Regions from separate parts of the Homo sapiens genome. Here regions 2 and 3 are each linked to region 1. The links are contacts of gene promoters, found by promoter capture Hi-C in human tissues and cell types (Jung and others, 2019). All regions are on one chromosome and are shown on one strand. The core of a region is centred on a gene start or on the middle of the fragment in contact, and the rest is flanking DNA. Distances in the headings are between cores, read along the strand shown. Region 1 holds the start of LRRC69 (leucine rich repeat containing 69). Region 2 overlaps DECR1 (2,4-dienoyl-CoA reductase 1). Region 3 overlaps RIPK2 (receptor interacting serine/threonine kinase 2).

Region 1 (3,408 bases), core at 849-3,348:
ACAGTGGGTCCAATTTAAGAGAGCAACAAAGGGAATGTCCTTGGCTGACAGTATCTAGCAAACCTAGATAGCAGTCAACATAGAGTGGGGCAGAGGATGGAGGGTCTTAGAGGGAAGTCTCTCAAGGAAAAGTACATTTGACAGAAAAAAATTATACAGTTTGAAATAAAATGAGGCTACCATAAAACTAAGGCACAAGAACAAAGGAAAGGTTATTAGAAACTCCAAGGGAACAAAAATGGCATATAAGAAAGAAAATATAATCATAGATTAATTGACTCCATGTGAATATTTATTTATTAGTAATATATATTTTTAGAAGTTTAGAGTTACCCAAGACACAAAACAAATATTTAATTATGGTTATAACTGAATAGGATATAAAAGCTGTAAGTGTTATAAAAGTAAAAACTTCAGAGTTTGTGAGGGGGGAGAGGAAAGGACAGCTGAAGGTGGATTACAAAGGCTGACACTGTCATCTTACGAAGTGGGGAGTCAAAAGAGACTGCAGTTGATGAAGGAAGAAATAAAGGTGTAGTAACATTACATGTAAAAGATACCTGTAGACCTAATCCCCTGATTCCAGATGTGGATCAATACACAATAGATACATTAATATAACTGTATCTAGAAGATGAAGAAAAATGATGCCAAAAATAGACAAATCAATAAAATAGATGAGTTAAAAGTGGTTATATATGGAGATCGGGATTGAGGATGAGGGGAAGTGGGATAGAAGATAGCTTCTTGCTATAAGCTTTTTGTAATATTTAATTCTCGGTAACCAATGGTTAGTACTACTTTAATGGAAATAAATTCAAATAGAGGGAGAGAATAGGTTCATGACTCAGTCAAGTCCCAAATTCTTTTGCAAAGAAACTCCTCTTTCCTATTAAAAAATTCCAAGTCCTTGTTGTCTTGTAACTACAAGTATACCTTCTGCAATTACTAATGAAGGGGGACTTTGTAAAAGTTACCCTATTTCTTATAAAGATACAACTACAGATTACAAACTCAATTTCTTAAACGTAAAAGGAAATGAGGTAGGGTGAAAGTAAGAAAATACAGATTTATTTTTTGGAACTGTAAATTCAAAATTAATGAGCTATAACGCCTTAGCTGCTTCTAGGTTCTTCCTGTGCTGATGACAATTCAGCAGTGAACAAAAAGAAAATTACAAAGTTAATATCCCTTGCCTTCTCTCAACCTCAAGATTTTTGGCAGCTAGAGTTTCACATTGTTAGGCAGAAAGGTTTAACACAAGCATATGGGATTCATTCATGTCAACTATTCCTCTTTAAAAAAGAATATTTTTTATTTAAAATATTAAACTTCCTTTAAAGACTATTTCAGGAGAAATAAATGTCCCCTCCTTCCTATTCCCTGCCAACACTCCATTTCAAAGTTTCAGCCTGCCCTAGGAAATTGAAAAGGAACTCCCTTGCTGCATCCTAAATGTCTCTTCATTCTAAATGCAAAAGCTTCAGGACAGTCCCCAGGGTGAACAGCATCTCCTGGATCCTCAAAACTACTTCCAGATGTAAGCCCCCAAGATAGACGACCAGATCCAGGTTTCCAACCCCTTTCCAGATGACAGCCTCTAAAAAGATGAGTGTGGCAGAGACCTAGTCCCCTGACTCCAGATGTGGGCCAAAGAGCACATGAATAAATTGAAACATCTCTCCCTACCACATGGAATTCCCTAAGGGAGAAAGCCTTCTGATGCCTCTCCAGCAACACTCCACATTAAGTCTCCAGATACCTAAGTCTCCATAGATCGAAGTGTTATTGTTCTGTCTCTTACCCCTTTTTTCTCTCTTCCTGTTTTCCATCTTCAATACCAAACCACAACAGCAAAACACTGTTCCTCACCTGGGTCAAGTTGCATAACTCTGGACACACTTTGGGGATTAGGTTATTCTGAAGGACTAGAGTCTTCAGGCCAGGCAGTTTTCCTAATGCTGAGGGCATCTTTGTCATCTTCTTCCCATTCAAAGTAATGATCTTCGTATTTTTACCACCACTCAATGCTTTTATTAACAATCTCTCAGTCATGATCTTGGAAAAGAAGTAGAAAACAAGGTAACCATTAGAGTTCTTTATTATACAGCTTTAGAACCTCTAATTACAGAATTGGTGTGTCATAGAAACAAGAACATTCTGAGATCCACCATGTTGAAGGGGGGAAGCATTAGATTATTTTCCTATGTGAAAGATACGAAAGGAAAGTAGATGGTCCAGGTTTGGGGCAGGAAATGTATAATGTAAGCCTAAAATAGCTTATGCCTGCGATATTAAAGCTATCAGAGATTAATGAGGACACAGAAGTGAACTTCTAGGAGCTCCCACTAGTCTAAGATGGAAAATATTAAGGATCAGAAAGAAATAATCTAGAATAGACTGAAACATATCAAAACACATTAAAATCTGAGTTCATAATGGCATTTTTTAAAAAGAAACATTACTCACCCTGGGAATTACTAGCGCACCAACTCAGTCTGAAAATTGATAAAGGAAAAAATATAAGCATTTATTCTGCTTTTCCAGTACAAACTGCACTTAAATATAACTTAATAGTTAATAAAGTTCTTATTCACAAGAATTGAAACTAATAAATGAGAAAGACAAAATAACTAGAATAATCACAATTTTTGCAAATTCTAATAAAATAATGGAGCTATGCAAAAATCATAATTGGAGACTGAAAGTATTAGATGAAAGGTTGATGAGGAACTTTATAATCAAGTGATCAGGTTAATAACCCACTAATCATTTTAGCATCAATAAAATTGAGACAATCACATTATAAGCCTTATGAAGTAATGAATTAAAAAGTACACAGCAGCACCACCTATGAAATGTTCCTGTCCAAAAATTAAATCTGAATCTAATCATGGCTTCAAGATCTAACTACCATTTACAAAAAAACAGAACTAGAGAATAAGTTAAGTTCATTATAGGGAAACAGTCAAATCTATAACATGGAAGATTCTACAGGACTGGTCCCTGGTCCAATGTCACAAGGTTTCACCAACAAATGAAAGACATTAATAAAAAGGAGGGAAAACTGTTACGATGTAAGTGAAACTTAGGGCAAATAACAGCTAAATGCAATGTCTGGACTGTATTTGAATCCTCAGTTGAATACAAACATCTCAGGGAAATTTGTTCATCGGCTATTAGATGAGAGAAATTAATTCTGTTACATGTGAAAATGGTATGGTGGTAGTATTTATTTTAAATGTGCTTAACATTCAGAAATGCATACTGAAATTTTCAAGTGAAATAAAATGATATCTTGAGTTTTTTTAAAAATAATCTAGGGGGGAAAGTGGGTGGAAGAAACTGATCAAACAAGATTGACAAAATGTTGATAATTATTAATGCTGAGTAATAGACACATAGGGG
Region 2 (3,467 bases), core at 700-3,199, 1.1 Mb after region 1:
ATTATCTACTAAGGAAACACTTTTCTCATTTAAACATTTAATATAAATATGTCCCTCATGTAGGCTGCTATTTTTAAGTTTAATTATAGTAAGAAGGGATATCAGGGCTCTGGTTTTTCTAACTAATTTTAATTATGAGTCAAAACCTAAGTTTCAGATAGTTGATAGTCCCCTTGTAAAAGACGTGGTAAAAATACATTTATCTTGGAGGAAACTTAACATTTTCTTTCATAACTAACATTTATTGAGTACTAGTCTGCCCCGGGAACTATTCTTAACACTTTATAGACACTAGCTCTTATAATCATTACAGCAATCCTAGGAGGAAGGCTTTATTATCAACATTATTTTACAGAAAAGACAGGCACAGCAAGCTAATCTGTCCAAGTTGATAGGACTAATAAGTATTAACCAGGATTGGAACTTGGCAGTTAAGCTCTAGAGCCTGCACTCTTAACTACTATGTAACTACTACTGCCTTGCCAAGAAATTTCTAATTACTACTTAGAAAGAAAAACTAATTTATTTTCAAAATTCTCAAATCGCTTTACCTTTACCTTATCTTCAAAAAACATCAAAATAAGGTACACAGTTGCTCTAAGAAATTTTAACAGATGAGGTTGAACTCTCCCATCAAACGAGATGACTCTAGAAAAAAGTGATTTCAAAAGGATACTAATACCACCTTAATAAATTTCAACTGATAACTAAAAATGTGTTTTCAAATATTCTTTAGATGCACCCACTGTTCTAGAAAAAAACAAAATCTCTGGACACAATATAAAGAAATGTACTTATGTGGTTCTTATATACTCTAAGCAACATACACCTTGCACTCACACTACTGACGAATAAGGAAAGCCTTCTGCTATGCTCTACTCTTCCCACTTCTGAAACAAGGTGCATTTGCTTCCATTCCAACTGATCATGTCAATGACTGGTCATCTTTTCCCTCCAATAGTAAAGTTGAAGGACATAATTGAAAGAAGTGTTAAGTATGTACTCAACTCACCTTCCTTTTGCAGGTCTCCAAAATGTTTCACTGCATAAACAAAGCACCACATTTGTGTTCAGTGTTGAGTTAGGAAATGGTGGGGAAGGAATGGAAAGGCTTTGCAGGTAGGGCAGAAGTAATGCACCCTGATAAAAGAATTTGTAATGGACGGAGAGTTGATGGAAAAGGAGACTTACAACATGAAACAATAACTAGATGTAGCATGTTTTTAAGTGCTAAAGCAGGGGACCCCCACACCCCAGCCCCATACCAGTCTATGGCCAGTTAGAAACCAGGCCACACAGCAAGAAGTGAGCAGTAGGTGAGCCAGCATTACTGCCTGAGCTCCACCTAATGTCAGATCAGCGGTGACATTAGGTTATCATAGGAGCGCAAACCCTATTGCAAACTACACATGCAAGGAATCTAGCTTGCACATTCCTTATGATACTCTAATGCCTGATGATCTGAGGTGAAACAGTTTCATCCCAAAACCACCCCCTGCACCTTCCCCTGGTCTGTGAAAAAATTTTCTTTCACGAAAATGGTCCCTGGTGCCAAAAGGGCTGGGGACCACTGTGCTAAAGTATGCATGCTAGCCCCTGAACTGGTAATCCTTCAGTGAGGAGTGGACTAGAGCTGGGAATGGAGACTCTATGGCTCAGGTAAAGAATGATTCTAATCAGGGCATGTGTACTGGATCAGTCAAACGGGCTAGTATAGAGACTGGACAGGCTGAGGGTGCTCCATTATGGAGGACAAGGAAGAGTAACTGGCCAAGTACAATGTCTATGGGTTGGAAAAAGGAATGTTTTGAAATTTATTCTTGTGTTTACGGTTCACACATCAGGGACTCCAGAAGAACAGCAAGATGGTTAAAAAATCTTGTGTTTTCTGATAATTTAATTAAACTGTAAAAACAGTATAATGTACTTTACTTAGTTCAATGCTTCCAAGGCCTCTGGCCTTGAAAACTGTTTCTTCTTCTCTATTAACTAAAACAGTCCTTTGTTTTTATTCTTTCTTCAGTTGGTGATTTACATTTATTCTCTTCCTCTATCACAAGGCTGCTGGTAAGATTATTCACTTCACTCTTTCCCTTTCCCCAACACAAGCTCCATATGGTTCAAGCTTCCTTGGGTTGCTTCTACTTCTTAGTTTTAAATTCTCTGAGGTTCTTAAAAGTTATTTCCACCAAAGTCTTTATGTTAGCTAGGCTATCGGATGTCCATTCACATGTAAGAAAAAGCACATGTACATCTGTAAAACAATTTATATTTTTCATGAGGCTTCTACACCTAACGCCTTGTTCTGTTACTAAATATTGGAGTAGTAATTTATTATCAAGTATATTTTATAGATGAAAAAGCTGAATAACAGTAAAATATCGTCACTCACTAACTGTCCAAGTATCAGGTGTAAACTAAGTGACTATGACTACAATAAAAAGTCACAGTTCCTTCTTTTTCTCTACTAGACCACTTACAACAACTAATTTTTTAAATTATGTCAATTGTCGATTTTAATAGTAATAGTTAACACTTAGGTAATTAATAAGCCATAGTTTCTCATCTGTAAATGTGAGCGTTAAAAATTCACTTCCTACATTAAAAAAAGATTGTACGTCAGTTTCCACCCATGTCTATAAATGGGAATAAAAGAGCACTTACTTGCAAGGTCATTGCAAGTGTTAAATGAGTTAATAAGTATTTAGCACTTAGAACAAAGCCTGATACAAAATAAGCACTCAATAAACATTAGATATGAAAGAAAGAAAGAAAAAAAGAAGGAAGGAAAGATTTTTATAAGGGAAAAAAAGAAAGGAAGGGAGGAAGGAAGGGAAGGAGGGAGGAAGGAAAGAAGGAAGTAAAAATAAGTGAAAATTTGGTTAAAATTAGGTAATGTCTTTAAAAAGAATATTTCACATTTTGCTTGTTCTGTATTCCAACACCTGTTACATCATATACCTTTATTTAATATACAACTTGTGGGAATCACTATAGAATTCTCATATGTTCTTAGGTATAAGGAATTCTAGCTTTCTGGTATAAAGTAATCCATGTGACTCAACACCAAAGCTAGTCCAAAATCAAGTACAATATCTGAGTAGGCTGTCATATATTTTTTCAATAAATACATGCAAGAAAAGCAAAAAAAATTTTTTAAGAAAAATAGTTTTATCTAGATACAATCAAAATGTAATTTTAAGACAATAATAGACATGAGGCCAACATTTTAACTTGAATGTTAAGTAACTTAAGATGCTAAAAAAAAATCCAAATATGAAGAGTATCACACTATGTTGAACACTTATATAATATGCCTCTGATGGCGGCACAAGAGGCTTTTGTTGGATTCAGGTTAAAGTAACAATTTCGCAAAGCAAGGCTGTAGCCAACCTATCACCTGTTGGACAAAGCTGCCAGAGCAGGTGCAAAGGACGAGGTAACATCTGCATATAAACTCCCCTCAA
Region 3 (3,661 bases), core at 26-2,525, 1.3 Mb after region 1:
GTATATCTCCCTTGGTGAAATTCAAATCTTTTACTCATTTAAAAATAGGGCTATATGTCCTATTATTGACTTGTCAGGGTTTTTTATATATTCTAGAATCAAGCCCTTTAGCAGATACATGTTATGCAAATATTTTCTCCCAGTCTGTGGCTCTGCTTTTTTTTTTCCTTCTTGGAAATGAGGTCTTGCTATGTTGCCCAGGTTGGAGTGCAGTAGCTATTCATAGGCACGATCACAGTGCACTATTACACATCCTCAAACTCCTGGGCTCAAGTGATCCTCCTGCCTCAGCCTCCTAAGTACCTGGGACTAAAGTCGTGGACACTAAATGCCTGGCTTTCTCTTTTCTCAATAGTACCTTTCGAAGTGGAAAAGTTTCCAATGTTTGCAAAGTCTGATTATAAATTTTTTAATGAATCCTATTTATTTTTGATGTCATATTTAAAGATTCTGCCTAACCCTAGGTCATGAAGATTTTCTCCTACATTTACATTTGGATGTCTGATCCATTCTACCTCTGAAATACTATCTTAATTCTGTAACTCTTCTGTCTTCAGAATTTCCACCTTAATTAGAATATTCCTGAAAGTGTCTTTTCTAGCCTCTTTGCTTCCACTTTTGTCTTTCTCCAATCAACTTTCCACACAGCAGTAAGAATTTCACCTAAACTTCTATCAGATCATGTCACTTCCCTGCAAAAGATACTTTAATGGCTTTCCATTGCACTTGGAATAAAAATCTAACCTTTTTATGATGGCCAATAGCCTCTCTCTTAACTCTCCAATATCATCTAATTCCTTTCCTTGCTCACTGTATTCCAGCCACACAGGCCTTCTCACTGTTTCTTGAGAATATAAAACTTTTTCCTCTTCTAGGCTCAGAGCCTTTATGCTTGCTGTTTTGTTTGGCTGAATACTCTTTCTTCAGCATTTGAATGACTGGCTCTTTTTCAAGCTTCAAATGTCAGCTCAAATGTTTGCCCCTAAAAAAAGGCCTTTGTTTCCCTCCCTTAATTAGTCTATTACCTTGCTTATTTCCTTATAAGACTGTCACAATTTGTGTATCTTGCTTATTTATTTGTTTTCACTCTGCCTTCTCAACTAGAATGTGAACTAGCTACAGAAAGTTTGTCTTGTTTACTACTCTGTTCCCAGGGCTCACTCCAGTATATACATAGCACATGGTAGGGGTTTAAGACATATTTGTTAAATATATGAAAGAAATTGTTACTCCTATCACACGATTTCTCTTTTTTGTTAGGAATTCTCAATTCTGCTCTAGAAGGAGTTACTCATATATAAATGCTATGATAAGACAGAAAATAATTTAAACAACTTCTAGCTAGTCATCTAATTTGCACAATTTTTCAAGGAATATTTTATTCACAGTATATTAACTAATTCTGTAATTCAAAGAGTCTAGGTTAAAACTATATACTCACTTAAGAAAGATGGTCTTTCATCTGGATTTTGTGCCCATCCACTTTCTATTAGAGAGATCATACGTGCTCGGTGAGGTATATCATATGGCAAACTTTCTTCATTAATAACAGGTCGATGTCCTTGTGACACACTATACATTATCTGCAAAGGATTGGTGACATCTGTCAAAACAAATAGATTGCATTCATTAGTAATATATTATGATTAAGCATATTACTTACATCTAAAACTAACTAAAAGAAAATAAGTGAATATTGAAATTTTAGGAATGATGCCTTACCCCCCTTTCTGTAAAAGGAATATATATACCCCAAACCATTGCCAGACTTGTCTGATTCCTATGGAATGAGTTTATATCCTCACCTCATTAATTTTGGGCTTGACCATGTGATTGGATTTGGTCAACAGAGTATTTGTAAAGCAGAGCTGAGCGAAACCTTGCAGAACTAAGAAGGGCTACAGCAACCAATATTTAATGTGAATGAGAAATAAATGTTTATTTCATAAGCTACGGAGATTCCGAGGTTGTTTTTTGTTACACAACAAGCTGACCTACACAAACCTCAAAATAAAGAAATAAACAATATTTTCAGGGAATAAAAAGGACAGATTAGTCTTCGATATTTGCTAGTCTTTATAGAGGGGGTAGTAATTAAATTATCATATAAATAATTTTACAGCTAGACTAGAACTTGGAAATAGTAATTTAAAATTCTTATTATGCAGGCGACAAAAATGAGGACGCAAGAGATTTGTGACTTGATCACAGAGCTAATTACTGTCAGAACAAGAATTAAAATCTGGGTTTTTCTGATCCTTAATCCAGTACATTTTCCAGTATATAGTAGACTCACAACTGGATCCTTAACCCGGTATATTTTGCAGTATGTGATGCATTCACAACTGATAAATGGTTGTTTTAGTGTGTTTTCCACAAAATGAATAAGCAGATTTAAAATAACATGATTTTTAGATAGTTCTGAGAGTGACCTACTAACATGATGTTATTGAGCATAAAAAAGTCAAACCATACTTACCTTCAAAAGGCTGTTTTCTGGATAACACTTCCCATGTGATAACTGCATAGCTGTTTAACATAAGAACATACATGTTACATATTTTAAATGAACTCTGCATAATAAACTAAAATAGCACTATTTTTAAAAGCTGACTGAAGATACCATTTTTCAAAGTGATAAGGCAGCAAAGAATTACTGTATACAATGAAGATGATAAATGCTCATGTAGTTTGGAAACAAAATCAACTTTAAGTTAAAAAATTAGGAAATTACTGTAATACAAGCTTAACGTTACATGCAAGATTAACTTTTTGTGGATGATTTAATTCTTGGACACCCAGATAAGCTATGCCCTTTAATTAAATGATATTATTTTTCACAAAGAACAAAGAACAAGAAAAAAATTGTCTCATGGAGCTCTATTCTACTGCCTTTTTTCTGCTCTCAGCACTATCTTCTTTGGTAGTAGAAATATCTTGCCTACAGTTTAACTTCAGATGTCAATTACAGGGTTAAGCTGCATAGAGTTTATAATTAGAATAAATGGTTAAATAGGATATAAGAATTTTGCCACACCCCAACATTAACCATGCATTCAAAATGGACACATAGAATTTATTACTACTAACACCTTGTGTTACAGGGAGAGCGAGGAGTACAGAGGGAATTCCTACCCAAATGAAGGAATAATATTTCCTCATTTTTCCCTGACAGAGAATATTGAAATTGAACATAAAGGGAAAATTCACAAAATGAATGACTGGCAGATTTATTGGCCCATTTTTATAGAATCAAACCAGCTTTAAGAATTGTTGGGTAGAACATGATCTCTACCTTAGGAAGCTATAAATACATTTCTCCTCCCCTCAGTACATCATTCAGAATGAATTAAAAATATCAGAAAACAAAATATAAAAGGACAGTTTCTTATATTCATACAATGTGAATGTAAAAGACACTGTATGAATTGTTTTAGTGCAGCCACTAAAATGGATTGGCTGGCTTTGGTTTTAATGAGAAATAACAAAAATTAAAATGCTTTTGAAGAAAAGGAATATGCAATTTAATTAAATATATAGTTTTCTGGTAGAGATATAGCATTCATTCCTAAAATGATTCATTAACAAATTATTTATTAAAGATGGCAAAAAGCCATTTAAAGGACTATAAAATGTGTTCAGAGCAAACTTAGAGAGTCTG

What was found. The method cuts DNA at HindIII sites, captures the fragments that hold promoters and counts their contacts. A contact is called where the count stands out against the background at its distance.
Region 2: a fragment that was not itself captured here is called in contact with the fragment with the promoter of LRRC69 in region 1 in 1 of the 25 tissues and cell types used here (spleen).
Region 3: a contact is called between a fragment that was not itself captured here and the fragment with the promoter of LRRC69 in region 1, in 1 of the 25 tissues and cell types used here (lymphoblastoid cells).

The regions. Positions count from the first base shown.
Region 1 is chr8:91,101,309-91,104,716 of GRCh38, reverse strand. LRRC69 (leucine rich repeat containing 69) reads right to left here and starts at 2,098. Exons shown (of 8, transcript NM_001129890.2): 1 at 1,873-2,098. The coding sequence starts at 2,055. The HindIII fragment of the contact is 5,612 bases long and covers 1,120-3,408 here.
Region 2 is chr8:90,028,071-90,031,537 of GRCh38, reverse strand. The region is part of intron 5 of DECR1 (2,4-dienoyl-CoA reductase 1); the gene reads right to left. Among named protein-coding and RNA genes, the nearest start is that of DECR1, 28 kb to the right of the region's middle. The HindIII fragment of the contact is 3,670 bases long and covers 115-3,467 here.
Region 3 is chr8:89,770,609-89,774,269 of GRCh38, reverse strand. RIPK2 (receptor interacting serine/threonine kinase 2) reads right to left here. Exons shown (of 11, transcript NM_003821.6): 5 at 2,480-2,529; 6 at 1,442-1,603. Among named protein-coding and RNA genes, the nearest start is that of RIPK2, 15 kb to the right of the region's middle. The HindIII fragment of the contact is 5,414 bases long and covers 1-3,661 here.